Linked DNA regions of Homo sapiens: region 1 is linked to region 2. The links are contacts of gene promoters, found by promoter capture Hi-C in human tissues and cell types (Jung and others, 2019). All regions are on one chromosome and are shown on one strand. Each heading gives the region's core, a stretch centred on a gene start or on the middle of the fragment in contact. The rest is flanking DNA. Distances are from core to core; before and after follow the strand shown. Region 1 holds the start of TRL-CAG1-7 (tRNA-Leu (anticodon CAG) 1-7). Region 2 holds the start of BTN3A1 (butyrophilin subfamily 3 member A1).

The links. The method cuts DNA at HindIII sites, captures the fragments that hold promoters and counts their contacts. A contact is called where the count stands out against the background at its distance.
Region 1: a fragment that was not itself captured here is called in contact with the fragment with the promoter of BTN3A1 in region 2 in 2 of the 25 tissues and cell types used here (neural progenitor cells and small bowel).

The regions. Positions count from the first base shown.
Region 1 is chr6:26,518,271-26,524,451 of GRCh38, reverse strand. It overlaps TRL-CAG1-7 (tRNA-Leu (anticodon CAG) 1-7), which reads right to left and starts at 3,244; the gene lies at 3,162-3,244. HCG11 (HLA complex group 11) reads right to left here and starts at 2,746. Exons shown (of 1, transcript NR_026790.1): 1 at 1-2,746. LOC107986583 (a long non-coding RNA gene) reads left to right here. Exons shown (of 4, transcript XR_001744057.3): 1 at 1-2,943. It also overlaps the pseudogene RNU6-502P. RefSeq lists silencers at 2,291-2,810, 3,041-3,640. The HindIII fragment of the contact is 7,569 bases long and covers 1-6,181 here.
Region 2 is chr6:26,401,025-26,407,298 of GRCh38, reverse strand. BTN3A1 (butyrophilin subfamily 3 member A1) reads right to left here and starts at 5,024. Exons shown (of 10, transcript NM_007048.6): 1 at 4,887-5,024; 2 at 1,651-1,927; 3 at 1,043-1,390. The coding sequence starts at 1,735. RefSeq lists an enhancer at 5,057-5,116. The HindIII fragment of the contact is 20,018 bases long and covers 1-6,274 here.

The DNA.
Region 1 (6,181 bases), core at 1,989-4,488, 120 kb before region 2:
CAAAATGCGTTAGTTTACTAACTACTTTTGTCATACACTGGCAACCTCTTTAATAGCTACAGACTAGATATTATAAAATCAGGACTCATTTGTCCAGTATATACACAATATATACAGTATAGCAAAGTTAAATGAAATGCTTGTAACATATAGGCAATGGATTAAGCTGAAATTTTCTAATAAACAATGGCAAAACACCTTTTGCAATTTTTTCCCTCCCACCTCCCAGGTGGTTCAACAAATCCACTTCCAAACAGCATTTCCCATCAGTTTTTAAAAGCTATTTACAAAAAGTGTTATTCTACTACTACTACTTTAAAATACATCAAGCACTTCCAAATATCTAAAGACTAGATATTTCATAGCCTGTCCACCATGTACACGGCACTGTTAAATAAAACTGCACACACATAACAATGGTTATCATCTAAGGTATCTTCTAAATGTGACCATTTTGGCCTTGAATCATTCCCTCTTCTCTTCCTTCTCTGCCTTCAATTCAGTGGACAAGTACACGCATGTGTAATGCTTAGAGATGGCTGAACAAATTCCTATGCAAAAGTCAATTACAGAAGACAAGTTTTCCTATGAATTTCAACACAAAGCATACAAAATATGCTAATTTTACTACTTTGTCATACACTGGCAACCTCTAGATGTTAAAAAATTAAGACTATTTGTCCATTATATACACTATATACAGAGCAAAACAAAATGCACAAAACATACAGAAAAATGGTGTCTGAAAATGTCCAAGTATGAACACACTAGCATATTATCTTTTGCAATTTCTTCCCTCCCACCTCCTCTAAACCATTGAGCAAGTATAGACAGTAATATACTGCTCACAAAGGTGGCTTCACAATTCAACTTCCAAAAGTATTTCCTATGAATTTTAGCAAAAAGATATTTACAAATTGGTATTTTACTACCTCTACATTTAATATACATCGGGCACTTCTAAACATCTAGATAGTCTAAATGTTTCAAGTAAGGAGTTAATTTGTCCACTATGTATGTACACAGCAGTCTCGAATAAACTGCAAACATGTAACAACAGTTATAATTTGAAAGAGTCTTCCAAATGTGAACATTCTGGCCTAGAACCCTTCCCATCTCCATCAACCCAGTGGGCAAGAATGCTCAAATTTTCAGAAGACAGTCTTTCCTAGGACTTGTAAAACAAAATGTACAAAATATATTAGTTTACTAACTCTAGTTTTGTTATACACTGGCAACCTCTTTAACATCCAGAAAGACTAGATGTTGTAAATTAGGACTCGTTTGTCCTTTATGTACATTATATACATAGATAAAACAAAATGCACAGACATAGTGATTCATCTTGCCTCGCTGTAAGCAGGATGGCATAGAGCTCTCTGCACCTCCCCCTCCTCTCTCCTCCCCTGAACTACTGCACAAACACAATGAGTATTACTCAACAGGTGATTTGGCCATTCCCCCCAAAAAACAACATTTCTATGAATTGTAACAAAAAGATATTTACAAAATGTGGTTTTACTACCTCTAATTTTAACATATATCAGACACTTCAGAATATCTAAAAAGAATAGACATTTCAAAAAAGCTTAGCATTGTCAACTACATACATAGTAGTGAGGAAGCGAATGCACACAAAACAATGGATAGAATATGAAAATGTCTTCTAAATATGACCAGTCTAGCATAGAACCTTCTTTTTTTCCTTCTCAGGTCTTCGAGCTCCATGTCATCTAACCCACTGAACAAACGTGAACGTATCGCTTCTAGAGGCCGTCTAACAACTCAGTTTCCAAAAGTCAACTCCGGAAGACATGTATTTTCTATGATTTCTTTTAAACAAATGAGAATTTACAAGATGTGTGACTTTCTAACTCTATCATACGTCGGCAACCTCTTTCCATCTAGAAGGGCTAGATGTGACAAATGTTTTCTATTAAAAGGTTGGGGTGGAGTTGAGAGCAGCTTTTTCATATTATATACACAGGCCTTCCGTAAACGGCCTGTGAATCTTCCCAGAGGATGGAGGGCATTTCCAACGGGCCAAACGTGGCCTGTCATTCTACCATTTGTCTCTTCCGACAGCAAGGTCTGGTAGTACGGAGACCAACCGCCCGATCGCCGCTAACCGTTCCACCCGTCGTCGTTCGGGACTTCGCTCACCTCCCAGGCCCGTTAAGGCCTTTGTCCGTTGTCGTTAGGACTAGGTAGGTCTCGCCCAATGGCGACAGAGTGGTCACCCGGGACCCAGATCTGGCGGCTCCGTGGCCTGAAGAGGCGGCCGAGCCTGCCTGCGTCCCTAGGCCGCCTTCCCGGGCCCTCCATGCCCTAACGCCCTCCGCCGCGCGGCGTTCGAGCGGCCGCCATGCTTCCCGGCACGCTACTCCCGCCGCCACCCAAAGGCGCTGCGTCCAGGCTGCTCGGCGGGGGTTTCGTCCAGGCCCGGCAGGCTTGGGCCGGGAGACCCGACGGCCGGCAGGGTCCGGACTGGGAGAGGCCGCCGCCGCCATCAGTCACCGAGGTAGGGTAGGGAAGAGACGTTCGCCACCGCTTCAAGGCCTGGGCCCAGCCAGTGGGCAGCCACAGCAGAGGCCTCCGGTATCTGCAGGGCAGAGGGCGCGGCCTGTCCCGGGGCGCCCCCTAGCTCACCCGCCGACCCGGGGCCGGAGGGCCTGGAGCGCCCTGGAGGAGCGGCCCGCGCTCTGCGTCTCTCCGCGCTCTCTGCCAGACCGGAACTCTTGCAGTGATTTCTTACGGGGAGTAAGGATGAGGTGGGGAATGAGACTGAAGAAATGGAATTAAAAAGATAACTATAACTAAATAAAGAGGAGCCCTGCAGTAATGTAATGAGCCATGAACTGAAGAGTAACATTTATTCAACTCTGCCTGTGAAGGAGGGAGAGGGAAAGACAACTAGAGACAGAGGAGAAACGGAAAAAGGAGGTGAGATTTCAAAACACCGGTAGGTTCTGAAATTATTTTCGGAGTACAGAGTACTTTTTGCTGTCCTTGGAGTGGCTAATAAAAACAAAGAGTGCTTTTATTCCGGAACTCGGAAAATTTATTTTTTAAAAAGAGAGAAGACCATGTCACAAAGAGCAGGTAGGAAAACGTAGCGTAAACTTAAACTCGATTTGTGTCTAAATACTAAAAGTACGAACTGTCAGGAGTGGGATTCGAACCCACGCCTCCAGGGGAGACTGCGACCTGAACGCAGCGCCTTAGACCGCTCGGCCATCCTGACGCGCTTATGCTACATTGTGCTCAGGACTCACTTCTGTCTCTTGTCTAAACGCTATTAGTTCCCCATCCACCAGCCGCCCCCCTACCCCATGTCCCCACCCCCGCCCACCCCCTTGTTGTTCTTTTTCTCAAGATATGGGCATTCCTGGGTTAAAAGGTAAGCCGCCTCTCCGCGAACTGCCTCGGACGGCGCTGCATAGGACCGGTTGTCCGGGCCACAGAGCGGCGTCTCCCGAGTGAACGCCGAGTCACTCCCAGGCTGCGCGGGGAGGGCTGCGGCGGGTGGGGCGGCGGGCGAGGGAGGGCGGGTCGGGGTAGGGGGAGCGGGACGGGGGCGGGGGCGTGGGAGGGGCGGGGCGGGCGTGGGAGGGGCGGGGAGGGGGCGGGGCGGGCGTGAGCCAGCCCAGGGCCGAGTGACTAAGGCGGAAGACGGCGATGGCGCTCTGCTCTCAACTGAATTCTAGTTAAAATAATGGCAATCCTGTTGAACTCAACATTACTAGAATACCTGGCTTAAATTTACACTTAATTCCCAGGAAGTTTTAGGCTTGCTCCAGTTTTTGCTGGAACAAGGTGCTCGCTAATCCTTCTCCTTTGCGTTGTGCTGCAAATCTCCCAGCACGTGGTTACCCTTGGCAGGGCCGGTGGAGGGGACAGGAGCGTGGGAAGCCTGGCTTGTCTTGCCTCTCTGTCGGAGTTTATGGAGGATTTGCGCACTTTTCGGTGTGGATGTTATACTGTAATAAAAACTTTAAAAAGCAAAAGCAAAAACAGCAACAACAAAAATGGGGAGTAGCTTATGTATTTTACTAAACCTGGCGCAGCGGGTACTTGATAGAAGGCCTTGAGCACAACAACTTTTCTAAACATAAACAAAGGTCAGAGGTGACCTACTTCAAATTTTGTTAGCAAGGGTTAGCAGTCAGGATGCCATGGTCGGAATATCACTGACTGGAAGTCAGGGGACCTGAGTACGAATTTCAGACAGAACTAGAACTGGTCACTACCTGGAGAATCTTAGATAAGTCATTTTGCTTCTGTGGACATTAGAAACAGCTTTCTTAGACACCTATAATACTTTCATCGTGAGTTCAATTGATAGAATACAATGTTTAATCCCTTAAATTAAGCATTAAATCCCCATCTCCAGGGAATCAATTAGAGGCAAATTCTGTTCTTCTCAGGCCTACCGATTCAGAAGTTTTGCTATGTCCAACATGGTGACTATAGTTAATAACAACGTTATTGAATACTTGAAAATTGCTAAGAGAGTGGATTTTAAATGTTCTTGCCACAAAAAGAAAAAGATAAGTATGTGATGTAATGGATATGTTAATTAGCTTGATTTAGCCTTCCCACAATGTACACATAGAACAAAACATCATTTTGTACATCATAAATATATATATCTTTATTTGTTGATTTTAAAAATACAAATAAGTAAATTAAAAAGTTATGAGGATAGAGTCCCACAGTAAGTGTTTAATAAGTCCTCTGCAAGGCCTCTAAAATTCAGTCACCTCTGCTCTTTTCACAGGGTAGTGGTGGATACCAACTTTGGAGATGAGGAGAGAGGCAATTCATCCAACATATAGGAAATATTTATTGGGTACCTACTATGTGCCAGGCAGCATTCTAGGTGCTGGTGATCCAACAGTAAACAAACAGACAGAATAAGCTCCACCATCGAAGGGCTTACACTATAATGGGGCAGTGAGCCCAAGAAACATGAAATAAAATGGACAGAGCTGTGCTCCCTTCGGCAAGCACTTACACTAAAATTGGAGCAATGCAGAGAAGATTAGCATGGCCTTTGCACAAGGATGACAGGCAAATTTGTGAAGCATTCCTTTTTGAGACGAAGTCTCGCTCTCGTTGTCCAGGCTGGAGTGCAATGGCGCGATCTCGGCTCACTGCAACCTCCTCCTCCCGGGTTTAAGCGATTCTCCTGCCTCAGCCTCCCTAGGAGCTGGGATTACAGGCGCCCGCCACCATGCCCGGCTAATTTTTGTATTTTTAGTAGAGACGGGGGTCTCACTGTGTTGGCCAGGCTGGTCTCGAACTCCTGACCTCAGGCGATCCACTCATCTCAGTCTCCCAAAGTGCTGGTATGACAGGCGTGAGCCACTGAGCCCGACGGGAGCATTCTATTTTTTTAAAAAAAGAATAAAAAATTAAAAAAAATAATAAAATGGAGAGAAGCTGAGACCTCTAATAAAGTAGTTATTTTAACTCCAGTCTCTAGGCCTCATGAGAAATCCCAGCTTAGTTCCCCAGTGAAAAATAGAATTGCCCTCTAAAGAAAGAGAAGTGGGGGAGGAAAAGCCCAATTTAGAAACAATACATGTATGTATTTTTTGAGACGGGATCTGGCTCTGTTGCCCGCGCTAGAGAGTAGCAGCATGATCCTGGCTCACTGTAGCCTCGAACTCCCAGGAGGAGTACAGGAGCAAGGATTACAGTAGCTAGGACTACAGGCACACACCAGCTGGCCTGGCTGTTTTTTATTGTTTTGTTATTATGTTGCCCTGGCTAGATAGTTTTATAAAAGGTTGAAAATGGCCAGGTGCAGTGGCTCACACCTGTAATCCCACCATTTTGGGAGGCCGAGGCGGGTGGATCACGTGAAGTCAAGAGTTCGAGACCAGCCTAGCCAGCATGGTGTAAACCCATCTCAACTAAAAATTAAAAAAAAAAAAAAAATTAGCCAGGCGTGGTGGCACACGCTTGTAATCCCAGCTACTTGGAAGGCTGAGGTAGGAGAATCGCTTGAATCCAGGAGGCGGAGGTTGCAGTGAGCCGAGATCGTGCCATTGCACTCCAGCCTGGGCAACAAGAGCAAAATTCCATCTCAAATAAATAAATGGTTAAAAATATAGAAAGCAAAACGAAGGCCAGACGTGGTGGCTTCACGCCTGTAATCCCAGCACTTTGGGAG
Region 2 (6,274 bases), core at 3,775-6,274:
TTTTCTCTCCCTCCCTTCATCGTCTGCTACAGATCCCTGCTGACCAAACCCTTAAACAGAAGCCACAGGGAAAAGCATTGCACTAAGAAAGAAAAGAGCAGTCCCTTTATCTGGAAGCAGCAACAGGACTCAGTGTCCTCCTGTTGAACAAAAGCAATTTCACAGAACACCAGCATCAGATGATGGCACTTTGTGACTATGATGGATCATGGGAAAAACAAGACCACCCCACATCATGTGTGAGCACAGAGAAAAACATGAACATTGTCCAAACCACAGCAGTGACCAAACAACCCCCATCAGCAATGAGGGATTGCTGTCCCTTCATCAATTACAGCTTTAGTCTCACCCTGGTCTCTTTCTTCCTAGATAAGATTGATTAAGGTTCTCACTCATAGAATTAACCTGCCCACACCTTCCTAGCAGTGTCTCATCCAGAGCAGAGGCCAAAGTCTATAAACCCTCCTCCCAAATCCCCTAACACAAGCCCAAATTATATACTAAGTCTGCTCTAACAGCTTCTTACTGAGACTCCACCACAGCTCCCCATGATATGTGTTCTTCCTCACTGCAACAAGTAAGAAACACAGCTCCCATGACTACAGGTGTATTCTAGGGTCATTGGCTCAAGAACATTGGCAGCAGATACAGTCCAGATAGCCCAGTCTTCTAGGGCCCACAATAGCATGTACCTAGTGGAGCCACAGAAGCCATCCAGTACAGAACTAAACACGAATGACTGTGTACTAGTCACTGAAGAGATGATTTCTTATGCTTTCTATCCCTTGTCCTTCACTTCCCTTATATCTCTGGTGGCCAGAGGAAAGGAGTTCTTTACTTGAGCATGTAGGGTACAGCAGGAATTCTTCCTAAAGGAAAACCTGTGTCTTACTCAAGGGCCTCAGAGAAGCTAAGTTGGGAGGCAGTGCAGGCAATTGCTAGTGAGCAGCCAGGAGTGTCTGCAGTGCTTTTGCAAGAGGGACTCTGCATCTGCTCTAGATCCTACAGAGAAATGTTCTCAGAACAAAACCTGGAGGCTCACCTGCAACCTTCAGCTCCACCAGGGCTTTTTCATAGAAGTCACCATCTTGGAAATAACACAAGTACTTTCCACTGTCAGAGGCTGTGACGTTGTGTATTCGGAGAGCAGCCTTCCCTGCAGTGATGCCATCCCGCAGAATCGAAGTTCTCCCTCGATACGGTGCACTCTGCCTGTCTTCCACTTCCTTTCCATCTGCATACACGTTCACCACCTGCCTTAGGCTGGAACTCACCCACTTCAGCTCCATGGTCTCTGCACTCATGGTCGGGAACAGGTGACAGGGCAGATCAGCGTCTTCACCCACCATGGCCAGGATGGGCCCAGAGGGTCCAAGCACAGAAAACTGAGCTGTAGGCACAAGGGGGAGGATCTGTCAGAGGGTTTTGGAGTTGGGGTCATGAGAGGAAGGGTGCTTCTCAGACAGGGAAGGCGAGATACAAAGAAACTGGTGGGGGAAACTGATCTTAACAGAAGCACCATTTGTCTCTTAGTGACGGGTGAACCTTCAGATCGGGATGGACTTCAGGTTTGGGAAGGAGTCAAAAGTCCTATGAGGACATAATTAGGTAATTGTCTGCTTCAGAAACAAGCGTGGAATTGTTCCCTACCTGAGTGAGGCATGAGCAGCTGAAGCAAAAGGAGGCAGACACGAAAGTTGAGCAGAAGGAAGGCCAGGAAACTTGCCATTTTCATTCATGCTGCATATCAGGAGATACTGGAAGGTGGGGGGCAGACACTATGACCTGGAAGAAGCTATAGAATTCCAAATGGAAACCTCCACTTCCCTAGAGCTAACTCAAGTATGGTGACCGAAGAAGATCTTTCCTCTGCCAAAAATTCTGTCCTTCAGTGTCTTCACCTTTGAGTCCCAACATTGAAAATCACCTGTAAAAACATGTCTATGTGAAATGCACATCTGTTATTCGATCAGAAAATCCTCACTGTACTGTTTAACAATATTCAGAATCCTATGACTTCCCCAAACTTCCCCTGCCAAGTCCAACCCACCACAATCCCCCTCTGATTCATGCAGGACACTCTTCACTGGGCTCCCTGGTTCCACCGGGGTCGACCGCTGTGGGTGTCCCACACTGTGGACTCCTCAAAGCCCCAACTCTTGGCCATCACCATGGTCAACTCATGGCCTAGTGGACTCCTGGTAGGATTAAGGAAGACTGCTTGGTGGGGGACCTGAAGTCAGTCAGGGGCTGAACCCACCACATTTAATCCAAGGCTAGTGATCACAGAGCTGCAAATAAGACCAGGCCTTACTTACCTTTTCTTTCTTCCCTTCATAAAGTCATTCAACAAATATTTACCAAGCACCCACAAGGGGCCAGGCCCATGATATAAGGGTTAGGGACACAAAGAGGGTAAGCAATAAGTAAAGGCTCTAAGATTCACAAGCTCTTTGGTCTCAGACATGGGACAAAACCATTGCAACTTTATTTACTTATACAATATCATGAAGTGTGAAATTTAGAATTGCACAGTTGGCCCAGCAGTTCCACTTCCTGATGTCAAGTCGAGCAAAGTACTTGCATGGGTGCAGACAGAAGCCTCTGTGAGAATGACACTGCAGCACTATTTTTAAAGTATAAAAATGGTAACCAACTGAACCAGCCACCCATCAGGAGACTGCTTAGAGGAATGACGGCTCATCCCTCGGAGGGAATTCAATGCAGCAGGTAAAAAGAGTTGATTTGTTGTCATGAACCTAGATAACGGAGACACACTAAGTGATCAAAAAACACCTTGCACAACTATACTAAAGATTCAATTGAAGAACAGAAGCAAAGCTATCCATTTCTGCATAACTATTTATGTAAATGCCTGAAAAACTCAAAAAAGACGCATGCTAATCTGAAGATCAGAGGTTAGTGAGTGAAGGGACACTTGGCCTTTTGTTCCCTTTACTTTTAAAATATTGGAATGCTTTAAATTTAAAACTTTTCGTGTATTACTTAACAATAATTATTATGAGTTACAATAGTGACGGGAACATATTAGCTGCTCAGTAAATACTAACTCCTCAACAGTTTCTTCCAAAACAAAGGAGCATGAGGCCTGCAGCCATAATCCCTCTTGCTGTGGGTCTGGGAATGGCCTCTGAGAACAAGATCTGCAGAGGGAGGTGGGGAGGGATGTAAAGGAAACAAGAGAACAGAGATCTGTGCAGCCGGCCATGCTTCACCCCTGCCTGGATCTTGCACCCACCCAGAGTAAACAATGCATTTCACCACATCTTTTGCTCCTCGAAACTGCTCTTTATGTTGCTATAGAGGGGGTATCATTTTTATTATCATTTTCCCTGAGTTAACAATTTCTCTGCTGTCCTTAGAATGAGACATAAGTTTTTCTTCTTCATAAAGGATATATTTTTTTTCCTGATTATAGTCAATATTGCAAATGAAAAAAAGCATAAAGGAATACAAGTTTAAGTAGTGGTTCATGCCTGTAATCCTTGCAATTTGGGAAGTTGAGATGGGAGGATCCCTGGAGCCCAGGAATTCAAGACCAGCCTGGTCAACATAATGAAACCCCATCTCTACAAATCAATCAATAAATAAAATAAAATATCTATAGTAGTAGTCATATACTTTGGTAGTGAAAAGGTAAATATTTCTGGAAGTATTTTGACCATATATATATAAAGGGCCTTAAAAAAAGTTATATGCTTTGCTAAGGAATGGCTATTAAAAGAAAAAAAAAAGGTGTGTGCTTTGACCCAAATGTTCCACTTGTAGGAATTAGTGTTGCAGAAAAAAGAAAATCAGGAACTAAGACAAAAATTTATGTTTTAGGCTGCTCAATACAGTAAAATCTACAATAGCCAAATGCAGAAAAGAGAAATAGTCCAAACTAGGGAAGTGTTTAAAAATAATTTTAAAGGCTGGGTGTGGTGGCTCACGCCTGTAATCCCAGCTCTTTGGGAGGCTGAGGTGGGCAGATCACCTGAGGTCAGGAGTTTGAGACCAGCCTAGACAATATGGCGAAACTCCGAATCTACTAAAAATACAAAAACTAGCTGGGTGTGGTGGCGTGCACCTGTAATCTCAGCTACCCAGGAGACTGAGGCAGGAGAATCACTGGAACCCAGGAAGCAGAGGCTGCAGTAAGCCGAGAACATGCCACTGCACTCCAGCCTGGGTGATAGAGCAAGACTGCATCTCAAAACAAACAAAAAAATTGTATATTCATACAATGAAATAGATTGTATCCATTGGATAGCATTCGTTAGGTTTGGGGGAAATGATGAATAAAAGGAAAAACACATACTGTTCCTAAAAGATTTTAAAACAAGGTTTAATGTATGGATCTAACATTGCTAAAATTATAAATAATTGCCCTTCATTAAAAACACGATTCCTAAAGGCTGCATGGAAATCTCTTTTATGATTGAACCATGCATTGTTTGTCTATCCCCCGCCTGTTGTATATGTATGCTGGTTCAGGTTTTTCTACATTTTTAATACTTCTGTAATGAACAAATTTACATATGAATCTATAAAGGACACCTCTTTTTAGAATCTCTTAGAATAGATGCCTTGAGTTGTCCAGAACAGATTTTAAAGATTGTTTGCCCTTTTCTGACTACAATACGTTCTTAAGAACATGCAATTAGACTATTTCTTCACCAAATCCCAAACTCTGCAGGTCTTTATTCTTTGCACTACTTCTCCCCTTTCCATGTGTCCACATGTGTGCGTGCGCACCCCCTCAGGCACACACCCCTTTCTCTGGGTGAGTACTCTCCCTGCATGCCCACTCACCACTCTCAGCGATTCAGCCCCTGTCCTCCCAGGCATTGTGAACCAGGCTCTAATCGACTTCCCCCACTCACCTCTTAGCATTCCCCTCTGAAAATCACAGCCCACAGAAGAAAGGCAGTTAATAGTTCTCCATTCTTTCTACTATGGTTAAATCTCCTTCTGGAAGAAAGGAAAAAGAAAGCAGAGACTGTCGGGTCATCGTGAGGAATAATAACAATCTCTCTTTGGAAGAATAAGTTTTTTGATTGGCTCAGAGGTGATGTTTCTCATCAGTTGCTGGGCAGAAACCACTGAGGAAGGCTGAAATGAAAACTGAAAGTACATTGAATTGTACACGTTGAAGAAAAATTCCTGCCCTACCTCCCTTACTGTTTATCTCTTTCATTCTTGTGTGTATATACGTATTTCTATATAGTCACTTGTCTTAAGTCTTTTATCATAATAGAAATATCAGCAGAACACAATGGGAAAAGATTTTAATGTGGTGAAGAGAGAAAGATGAGCACTAATTAAAATGCTACTGTGGCAGTTTGCTAACATTTGCTTGCATGAATATGGGTACATGGAGGAGGAGGAGATTTTACTACAGAGTCAAATAAACGTATGAATGGAAAGAAAACCAGACACAATGCACTTTTTTTTTGAAACGGAGTTTCACTCTGTCACCCAGGTTGGAGTGCAGTTGCAGGATCTTGGCTCACTGCAACCTTCGCCTCCCAGGTTCAAGTGATTTTCCTGCCTCAGCTCCTGAATAACTGGGATTACAGGTGCTCGCCCCATGCCCGGCTACTTTTTGTATTTTTAGTAGAGACAGGGTTTTGCCATATTGGCCAGGCTGGTCTCAAACTCCTGAGCTCAAGTGATCCTCCCTCCTCAGATCCCAAAGTGCTAGGATTACAGGCTTAAGCCACTGCACCCGGCCCACAATGCACATTTTTAAGCACCTCCAGCATCCAGGCTTAGGATCTGTTATCAAAAAATGTAATTTTTCTGGCTTCCAGAGGCAGTGCTGCTTGACACGTTTTACCTTTTTCAGCAAATTTTTAGTGCAGGTGTTTCTGAGCATCTCCATTCACCCTCAGCTCCTGTTCTGTGCTACACTGTATTTTCCTGTGTATTTGTTTCTCCTGCTGCCAGTGGAGTACATATTCTCTGAGGCCAGACTCTAGATAAACTGTGAATGCTGTCTCTGTAAGATGTCTATAAAACAAATTGGTTCTTCCTGTGGCCTAGGACCTCAAAACAGACTTTCTGGGATTGCAAGTCAATGATCGAAGTTCCTAAGGCTAAGATGTGACTGGGGCTGATGCAATTTAATTATATTGTAAATGTTTGAATTTAGACTGTGTAGTATCTGATTGAGATGGCTGGTCCCTTCTGCATCATGCATTCCCCCTTTCTTCTTGGTGATAAGGCCTAATTTTCTTAGGTACTACAACGTTCTTTTCCATCTGGTAGA